Linked DNA regions of Homo sapiens: region 2 is linked to region 1. The links are contacts of gene promoters, found by promoter capture Hi-C in human tissues and cell types (Jung and others, 2019). All regions are on one chromosome and are shown on one strand. The core of a region is centred on a gene start or on the middle of the fragment in contact, and the rest is flanking DNA. Distances in the headings are between cores, read along the strand shown. Region 1 holds the start of GALNTL6 (polypeptide N-acetylgalactosaminyltransferase like 6). Region 2 has its middle 19 kb from the start of LINC02174.

The links. The method cuts DNA at HindIII sites, captures the fragments that hold promoters and counts their contacts. A contact is called where the count stands out against the background at its distance.
Region 2: a contact is called between a fragment that was not itself captured here and the fragment with the promoter of GALNTL6 in region 1, in 1 of the 25 tissues and cell types used here (lymphoblastoid cells).

What each region holds. Positions count from the first base shown.
Region 1 is chr4:171,810,709-171,815,384 of GRCh38, reverse strand. GALNTL6 (polypeptide N-acetylgalactosaminyltransferase like 6) reads right to left here and starts at 1,981. Exons shown (of 13, transcript NM_001034845.3): 1 at 1,395-1,981; 2 at 667-973. The coding sequence starts at 804. LOC441052 (a long non-coding RNA gene) reads left to right here and starts at 1,778. Exons shown (of 1, transcript NR_134656.1): 1 at 1,778-3,247. RefSeq lists an enhancer at 1,621-1,770 and a silencer at 2,011-2,060. The HindIII fragment of the contact is 16,056 bases long and covers 1-4,676 here.
Region 2 is chr4:171,655,731-171,660,406 of GRCh38, reverse strand. No RefSeq gene overlaps it. Among named protein-coding and RNA genes, the nearest start is that of LINC02174, 19 kb to the right of the region's middle. The HindIII fragment of the contact is 5,131 bases long and covers 1-4,477 here.

The DNA.
Region 1 (4,676 bases), core at 732-3,231:
TACATATCTTTAGTATGGGTGTTTCCAATATGACAGCAAGCTGTTAGCAACATACTGTTATCAAGCGACTGTGAAACGGAATGAACGTCCTTAATAACTCTGCCTGTGTGCCCCATGGCAGCACCTTAGCAACAGGGGAGACGAAAGAGAGACTTTAAGTTTCGACAGGGTAAAAAGCTGTTGCTAAGCAAAATTTACAACCAAAATACTGAAAACCATAGCTTGATTTTTAAAGAACCACTTCACAATCTTAATGATTTAGTTGGCCCAATTCACCTGAACATAGACATGCATGCCAAATGGAAAGCAAAAACCTATCCTTGTCATTAAACTTGCACCAAACCCACTCCCACCTCCATAGCTGAACAGTTACCTTTCATCCACCTCAAGTCAAAATCAACCTAAGACCAATGGTGAAAGATTATCTTCTCTTCTTCTTGACCTGTCTTATCCTTCTTTACTAGTTGTACATGTCACGATGTTACTGGCTGCAATCTTAAAACATCTACTTGCTTAAACCCCAAAGTCTCTAGAGTCTTGTAATAATCAGCTCTGTCAAGACTTGGGGGAAAACCCAAGGCGATCCCACACCGGCTTTCTCGAGTCCCCGCGCGAGGATCACTGCCTTACCAATCCTTGTGTGATCTTTCTCTGGGTGGCACTTACCTGCTGCTCCCCGGGCTCCGCTGACTTCACCAGGTGCTTATCCTTGTACAGAGACCAGAGACCAACGTTAGGCAGGAAAATTAAAGCCACCGTGAACAACAAAGTCATCTGCAGAAATCTCTTCTGTTTCCTCTTCATTGCAAATGGTAACAGAGAAGAAAAGTTAAAGGAGATGGCTCCCTGACTGCTTCTTGTGTTTAATGTCAAATTCCTTTCCTCTCCCCTGCGAAGCACCAGAAACTGAGAAGCTACAAACTTTTGTTGCGTGCTCAGCACCAATCTGCAGGATTCAGAGGGAGTTGGCCATCTGCAGAACAAACGCACAGTTACTTTCCCCCCAGAAAACTATGACGAAGGCATTATCTATTGGCTTAGAAATAAATGACTTGACTAAAGAAATCATTAAGCCCATTGACCTCCATTAATATAAAGCAATAGAGTAAATATGGTCGTTTCATTGACTAAAGGTAAGTTATAAAAAAGTCAACAGCCTGCTAGATACTTAGGTAACTGGGAGTTTTTGTTGCTGTTGTTGTTGTTCGCCCCCCACCTCCTTAGTGTGGGAGGGCTGGGTCGGGGTGGAGCGGGTTAGGAGACAGAACTGAGAGGAACTGGCTCAACCCCTTCAAGTGTCAGGAAGAAAAGTGTCCGCTTTTGACATTGGAACAGCGTCACCTTCTTCGTCTTCCCTGAACATCTTTTCCTGTGCTCCCCTTGGGATAACCCACCTGAACTCAAGTTCAACTCCCTCCGGAGCCAGCTTGCCGGCGGGCTCCACCGGGATCCAGGGACTCGGGATCCGGGCAGAACTCCGGTTCGGATGGAGGTCCACGAAGTGCCGGACCCTCGCGCGCTGTCTACACGCTCCTCTGCAGGCAGCGGCTGGGAGCCCCGGGAACCTGGTGGAAAGGAGGCTACAGATGTCAGCGGAGTCCAGCCAGGAAGTGGTGGCGCCGCGACGTCCCTTCCTCGCGCGGTCCTCGGAATGCGATCCTCTGAGAAGTGAGCGCTCTGCCCATCAATCTCGTCCCTTCCCCCGGTGACGCTCTCACGCTCCGCTGTTCATGTTACCATTCTTTTCTGGCAACTGAACGAACCCACAGGACCATCACGAGCACCTAAAGGGCAATATTTTTTGATCTCCTCTTCTCGTAAAGGGGATGGAGGCGGAGAAACCGAAGTCTGTGCTGGGCTTGGAAGCGGACGAGGGCGCTGCGAGGAGGAGCGGAAGGCGGAGATGCGCCGCGGCTGCACACGGTCGCCCGCGCCCCACTCCCCGGCGCCTGCCTTCCGCGGAGACGTCGCTGGTGTCTGCCACGTGCGGCAGCCCGGAGCCCAGGAGGGGAGGGCGGGCCGCCTGGCGGGGGTGGGCAATGCCTCCCGGCCTCCAGACGCTATATAAACAGACCCGGACGCGAGGCAGCGGCGGAGGGCGAGCGTGACGCTGGAGGAGGAGTGGGAGCTCCCAGCCTGCGCGGGTCCTCTCTTTACCTGCCAGGGCTTTTCCGGGTAATCTGGGACCGACAGGGATGCCAGCACCCCGTCATCTCACCCAAAGGGCGCCAGGCCAGAGATTCCTGGGGAAAAGTCGCCGGCTGCAGGCGGTTGTCCCAGGAATTCCTCCATGGTGCCGGCGGGAGCGCGGCGAGCCGGGGCGCGGCGGCTGCGGGAGGTGGAGGCGACCCGGGACAGGGCCGGTCCCAGGGAGAGGGGATCCCCCGAGCCGCGCGTTCCGCCGTTCAGGCCAGGTAGGGGGTGGGGAAGGAGGAGGAAGAGGATCCCGAAGCAAGACAGAGCTGAGGCTCAGAGTTCTCAGGCAGCAGCTTCTGGAGGACACCGTGGAGACCCAAGGCGGCTTTATTTGGGTCTGCAAACACCCGGGGCCCCGGTTAAGATTCGGCAGGGCCACCCCGCTCCTCCCCCGCCTTGCACGACCGCACTCCGCGCGCCTTGTCACTGCGAGGGCTACCTGTCCTCGCACACTCCTCCGCGATGGCCAGAAAACGTGGGACTCGAGATAAGACTCTGGCAGATGGTACTCCTCCCTCCGCCTAACGTATCAATGCACCAACGCCCCTGACCGCACACTCAGGAACCTGTGGCAGCCTCGCCAAGGGACAGCGTGCCCAGCACCGTGCACTGGGCACTCTTGGATCTGGAGCTCACAACTCCGGAAGGAATGGGGACTTAGATGAGGTGACAGACATGCATGCATGCAATGCAGGCTGAATCCGCCTGTCTGGAGCCAAAAATAAACGCCATGGTCACCTCTTTGTTACAACCTGGATATGATGCCCACATGCGTGGGGTAGACATGCTTGGGATAGATAAGCCTGTGGACTTCAGACGGTATTTTCTCTTTCCCTTTTTTCTTCTTTCTCGTCCTCATCTCTGTCCCTCCCTCCTTTTCTTCTCGCCCTATCTCTTCCTCCCTTTCTACTCTCTCTAGTGTCTCACTTGAGAAAGACCTAGATTTGAGTGGGAAGAGTTATGCCTTAAACTGTTCTCATTATAAATTCAAAATGTACTTGAAGAATACAGATCGACTGTATGATGGCATGAATAAAGCGCTATGCTGTAATATTTGTTTTTGTGAATCACTTGAATTTTAAAATAGTCTAAAAATATATTTAATAAATGTTGTTGAATGTGTCCTTTATATAAAGACCAATTACCTTTAGATTTTATATAAATGCAACTTAATCTAGAGTGCAAGGGACTTAATTCCTCACCCCCACCCCCACACATACACTATGCCTTTTGTAGTCTGCGTTATTTTCTAACCTTTTTCTCTCTAAGGAAGTGCAGTTTTGAAACACAGAAATGTGAATTCTGGGAAGCAACATAGCAGGGAGAGGTTTCCTGGGAATATTGTCAGGTGCTCAAGGAAATAAATTTGGAGAATCATTTAATTATATTGGATATATTTTTAAGTACTGATACAGTTATTAATTTTCAAAGTAAAATAACTCAAAAGTGCACTTGGAATTAAAAAAGTAAAATCTCTCACATTTTAAACAATACCTGTTTTTTAATACCTTAAAAAATAGTCTTGGATCAGGAATAGACATACTAGCATTCTATTTGTTGAATCCAGGGTGTTGAGTTGAAACATGCTTCACTGTTGTTAAACTAGCAAATGGTCTTGCATACAGCACCCATTCAGAGAAAATCGTTAATTACTATTACTTCCCCAATCAAGTACACGCAGAATACATGGTAGAAACTGAAAGGAGAAAATTACTATGTTTACTTCTGTTTTATAGCATAGTTCCAGACCATAACTTTAGCTTTTTCTCCTTTTCTGTATAATTTATTTATTTATTTTTGATTCAGAGCATAATTTCTCTTTTCCCTTCAGTCTGGTATTCTTTCACAATTCCTCATGTAAATTACCAACAGATGACAATGTGTCTAGCTAAAATGGGTATTTTAGGTTGAGTTTACAAACAAAAAACTTCAGACGACAGTTAATTTTTTTGCTCAGATAATCCAGATTAAATGCCAATATAAATGTGTGTGGATGTTGTATGTATATATGTGTATATCATATATATTATATATAATATATATTATATGTATAATATATGTGTATATTATATATAGAATACACATGGACATGGTCTTCTACATTTTGACTTACATAGAAAGTCACCCATTCTATGCCCTATTTGCACTTCCATTCTGTTAGGATTCAACTGGCAACCTCAGATTATCAGAGTCCCATGCTGCTAATAATGTACTAATAACTATAGGGACACATTGGAAAGAAAACAGCAATATTCAGTGACCTTGAATAACTTACACTCTAGTTGAAAATGCAACATAAAGACAATAGAAATAAATTACCAAAGGTGCTTGGTACTAACCTTAAATTGAGCCAAATTTAAGCCCTATATTTAAGGAAGCAGAAGGTTATTGCTTTAGTTATCTCTCTACTTCAAAATGTAGCGACTTAAAACAAATTATTTTGCTATCTCTCTTATGATTCTGTGCATTGAATAGGCTCA
Region 2 (4,676 bases), core at 663-3,162, 150 kb after region 1:
ACAAAAATCTGTGTCTTATTTAACGTTTTATGCATTCTATTTTTGGGAGTCTTTTTATGCATTTTATGCATTTAACATTTTATGCATTCTATTTTTGAGAGTCTTTTCTCTTACTGAAGTTTAGTACAAGTACCTGGAGCCTAAATAATGTTAAACAATTGAAACTTCTTTATTTCATTTCAAATAGTGATGCAGGTGGCTTGAGTTGTTTAGAGATTTTCTAATCTCTTCTAAAGAAAATAGATTGGATTTTTAGCTGGCTAAGGCTCCTGAGACATTCATTACACATAGGGTGTTCTCTGATGAATTTTTTGAATCATCTTACTTTTATTTCATGTTGGAAAATCACTCTTCCAAGAGGCTGTTTGGGGGCCCCATGATCTTGATTCTGTCTGTCATAAATCAATTTTCAGTAATGCTATTGAGAAACCTTCACACATATCATGTTCCCCAATGTATAGAATACCTTATCAGAAAAAGAAAATTAATTGAGAAATATCCTACACATTGTCACAGTTGCATTGCTTAATAAGATGAGCCCCTTTCTCTGGAGAATCGGCAGCTTTCTGACATTCCCTGGTTTTATGCTACTTGAGTTAAATATATTGCTGGAAATGAAGCATAGCAATTTTATCAGGAAAATTACATCTCAAATAAAGAAATCTATTGTATTACATGTTGTTTTTGCTCTGTCTGTGCTACTTGATTTATATATAATTCTAACACAATATATACCACATTTGTGCTTAAGCAGTGTTAGTTGATCTTTATAAAAAAAATCAAGCTACATGGAACATAGAGGATCCTGGCAATACAAGTTTTCTGTGAAAAAAAAGTTTTCCTGTCCACATTACAAATTGAGTGACAACTTTTTCTATAGGATCGAATTTTTCAACAGAGGCTGTGAACTGTGCATTCAACAATAAACTATATACAAATATAAAACCTGCTTTCTTTTAGTAACTGAAACACTTTTCTTTGACATAAAAACACAAGCTCATTCTTTCTTGTCAGAGGTAAGAAAAATTAAGATAATCAGAAAATTTAGATATAGTGTTTGATTTATTCATTTATTTTCTGGCCTGACTCAAATTGTTATATTCACGGTCACTGTTTGGTTCAAGGTAACTTCAACAAGATGTCCCTTCTCTCTTCAACTATCTTTTTGCTCCTTTTCCTCCAGTTCCTAAATTTAATTTCACTGGCCTATCGAAATTTTTTTATATGGCAAAAGAGGTAGGGATTGGGATTATCTTATGTGAATAAGTGTTCTGTGTGGGCAACGCACGAGGGGAGAAGAAAAGACACAAACACAATACCTTTAAGGGTAAACAATCTTTATCCCATGTAAATGGCAATGCAGGTATAATAAGCAAATGATATAATAATATATAATAAATAGATTGATATAATAAGCAAATTGCAATGGGAAGGAGAGAAGGGAAAAGATATTTACACTCACCAGACTATGGAGGATTCACCACTAGACCGGGAAGCAACAGCCTGGGCTCCAGAGTCGGTCACTCGTCTGTTTACAGATGAGGAGAGGTGTCATGAAGCTTTGGCACAGTCTGGGACCCTATCTCTTTTTGTAACGAGTTGTTTGGCATGAGGTCCAGTTACGAGGGCCCTTTGTGACTGGGCTCAAGGAACACAAAAAGTCAACTTGTTTTTTGTGATTGTCTATTGTTTTTCAATAACTAACGTATAGGAATAGATTGAAATAGAGATTTCTCCAAAACAGCTCTGAATGAACACCTCAAGGTGTTCACACAACCTGTTCTGGGACTTGGTAACCATTGTTTGTGTCCATGTTCAATTGAGTTCAAATCTAATATTTAACTTTTCCTCCACATTAAGATAGTGCAGATGGTCACAGATCACTTCCTCTGTGTGATACAGGTGTTGTGTGATTGCTGATGTTAGTGATAGGTAAATCTTAGCTATTGTTTCCTCATATGACAACTAGAATTCTGGTGCTGAGCTGAGCTCCCCGTCAACCTCCTAGTGAGATATTGCCTCACATCTGTTATTATTAATAGAATAGTTACTATCAAAAGGACAAAAGATAAGTGTTGGCAAAATGTAAAGAAGCCAGAAGGCGTGTTCACTGTTGGTAGAAATGTAAATTGGTGCAGCCATGATGGAAAACAGTATGGAATTCTTCAAAAATTAAAAACAGAACTACCATACGGTCTAGCAGTCTCATTTCTGGTATACATCCAAGGGAAATAAAATCAGCATGTCAAAGAGATATCTGCACTTCATGTTTATTGAAGCACTATTCACAACAGTTGAGGTATGTAACCAACCTAAGTGCGTTGATAGATGATGAATGGATAAATATGGTATACACATACATACATATGCATATACATACATATATACATACGTATGTATGCATACATATGTATATACACACGTATGTAACATATGTATATACACACGTATGTAACATATGTATATACACACGTATGTAACATATGTATATACACACGTATGTAACATATGTATATACATACGTATGTAACATATGTATATACATACGTATGTATGTACACACGTATATACATATGTATGTATGTGTACATATGTATATACGTATGTATGTATGTGTATATATGTGTATATATGTATTTATATATACGTATATATGTATATATCCATATATACATATATGTGTATGTATACGTATATCCATATATACATATATGTGTATGTATACGTATATCCATATATACACATATGTGTGTGTATACGTATATACACATATGTGTGTGTATACGTATATACACATATGTGTGTGTATACGTATATACACATATGTGTATGTATACGTATATACATATATGTGTATGTATACGTATATACATATATATGTGTATATGTGTATGTATACGTATATACATATATACGTGTATGTGTATGTATACATATATACATATATACGTATATATACATATATACATATATACGTATATATACATATATACATATATACGTATATATACATATATACATATATGTGTATATATACATGTATATGTGTATATATACATATGTGTATATATACATATACATATATACATATATACATATATGTGTATATATACGTATACATATATACATATATACATATATACGCATATATACGTATACATATATACATATATACATATATACGCATATATACGTATACATATATGCGTATATATAAGCATATATATACGTATATACATATGTATGCGTGTGTGTATATACATATGTATGTATGCGTACATATGTATATACATATGTATATAGGTATGTGTGTATATACATACATATAATATATATTATATATACATTTATATATATACGTATGTATGTATGCGTATACCATATTTTCTTTATCCGTTCATCATCCATCAATGCACTGAGGTTGGTTTTATATATATATATATATATATATATATATATATATATATATACACAGTCACATGCCACATAATGATGTTTCTGTTAACAATGAACCGCGTATACAATGGTGGTCCCATTGGATCATAATGAAGCTGAAAAATTCCTATCGCCTAGGAACATCATAGTTGTCTTAACATCAGAACACAACATATTCCTCATGTGTTTGTGGTGAAGCTGACATAAACAACCTACTACAGGCCTACCAGTCATAAAAGGCATGTAACATACAATACATAACACTTAATAATGATAACAAATGAAATGTTACTTGTTTATTTATTGACCATACTATAACTTTTTGTTGTTGTTTTAGAGTATACTCCTTCTACTTAAAAAACAAGAAAAGATTAATGGTACAATGATCTCAGGCAGGTCCCTTGGTGGTATTCCAAAAGAAGGCATTGTTAGCATAGGACACCACAGCTCTATGCCTGTTATTGTCCCTGAAGAACTTCCAGGGAGACGAGCCCTGGAGGTGGAAGGCAGTGACACTGATGATCCTGACCGGTATTGGCCTAAGCTCGTGTGTATTTGTGTCTTAGTTTTTACCAAAAAAAGTTTAAAAAGTGAAAAAGAGAAATTTAAAATTTAAAAATAATGAAAAGTCTGTAAAATAGGGATATAAAGAAAGAAAAATATTCTTGCACAGCTGTAAAATATTTTTGTTTTAAGCTAAGTGTTTTTATTAAAGAGTCAAAAAGTTGAAAATTATTAAAAAGTTTATAAAGTAAAAGTCAAAGTAAGCTAAGTTTAATTTATCACTAAAGAAAATGTTTAAAAACAAATTTAGTATAGCCTAAATGTACAATGCTTATAGTGTCTATAATGGTATATGGTAATGTCCTAGAGCTTCACATTCACTCACCACTCACTCGTGGACTCACTCAGAGTCAACTTCCAGTCCTCCATTCTCCATTCAAGGTAAGTTTTCTATTAAAGTATACTATTTTTATATTTTATACTTTATTTTTACTGTACTTTTTCTACTTTTATATGTTGGGATACATTAATACTTACCACTGTGTTATAATTGCCTATAGTATTTGGTACAATGACATCCTGTACAGGTTAGTAGTCTAGGAGCAATAGAATATACCACATAGCCTAGGGATTTAGTAGGCTGTAGATTTGTGTCAGTACACTTTATGATTTCTGTACAATGATAAAATTTCCTAACTATACTTTTCTCTGAACATATCCCTGTCATTAAGTGATAT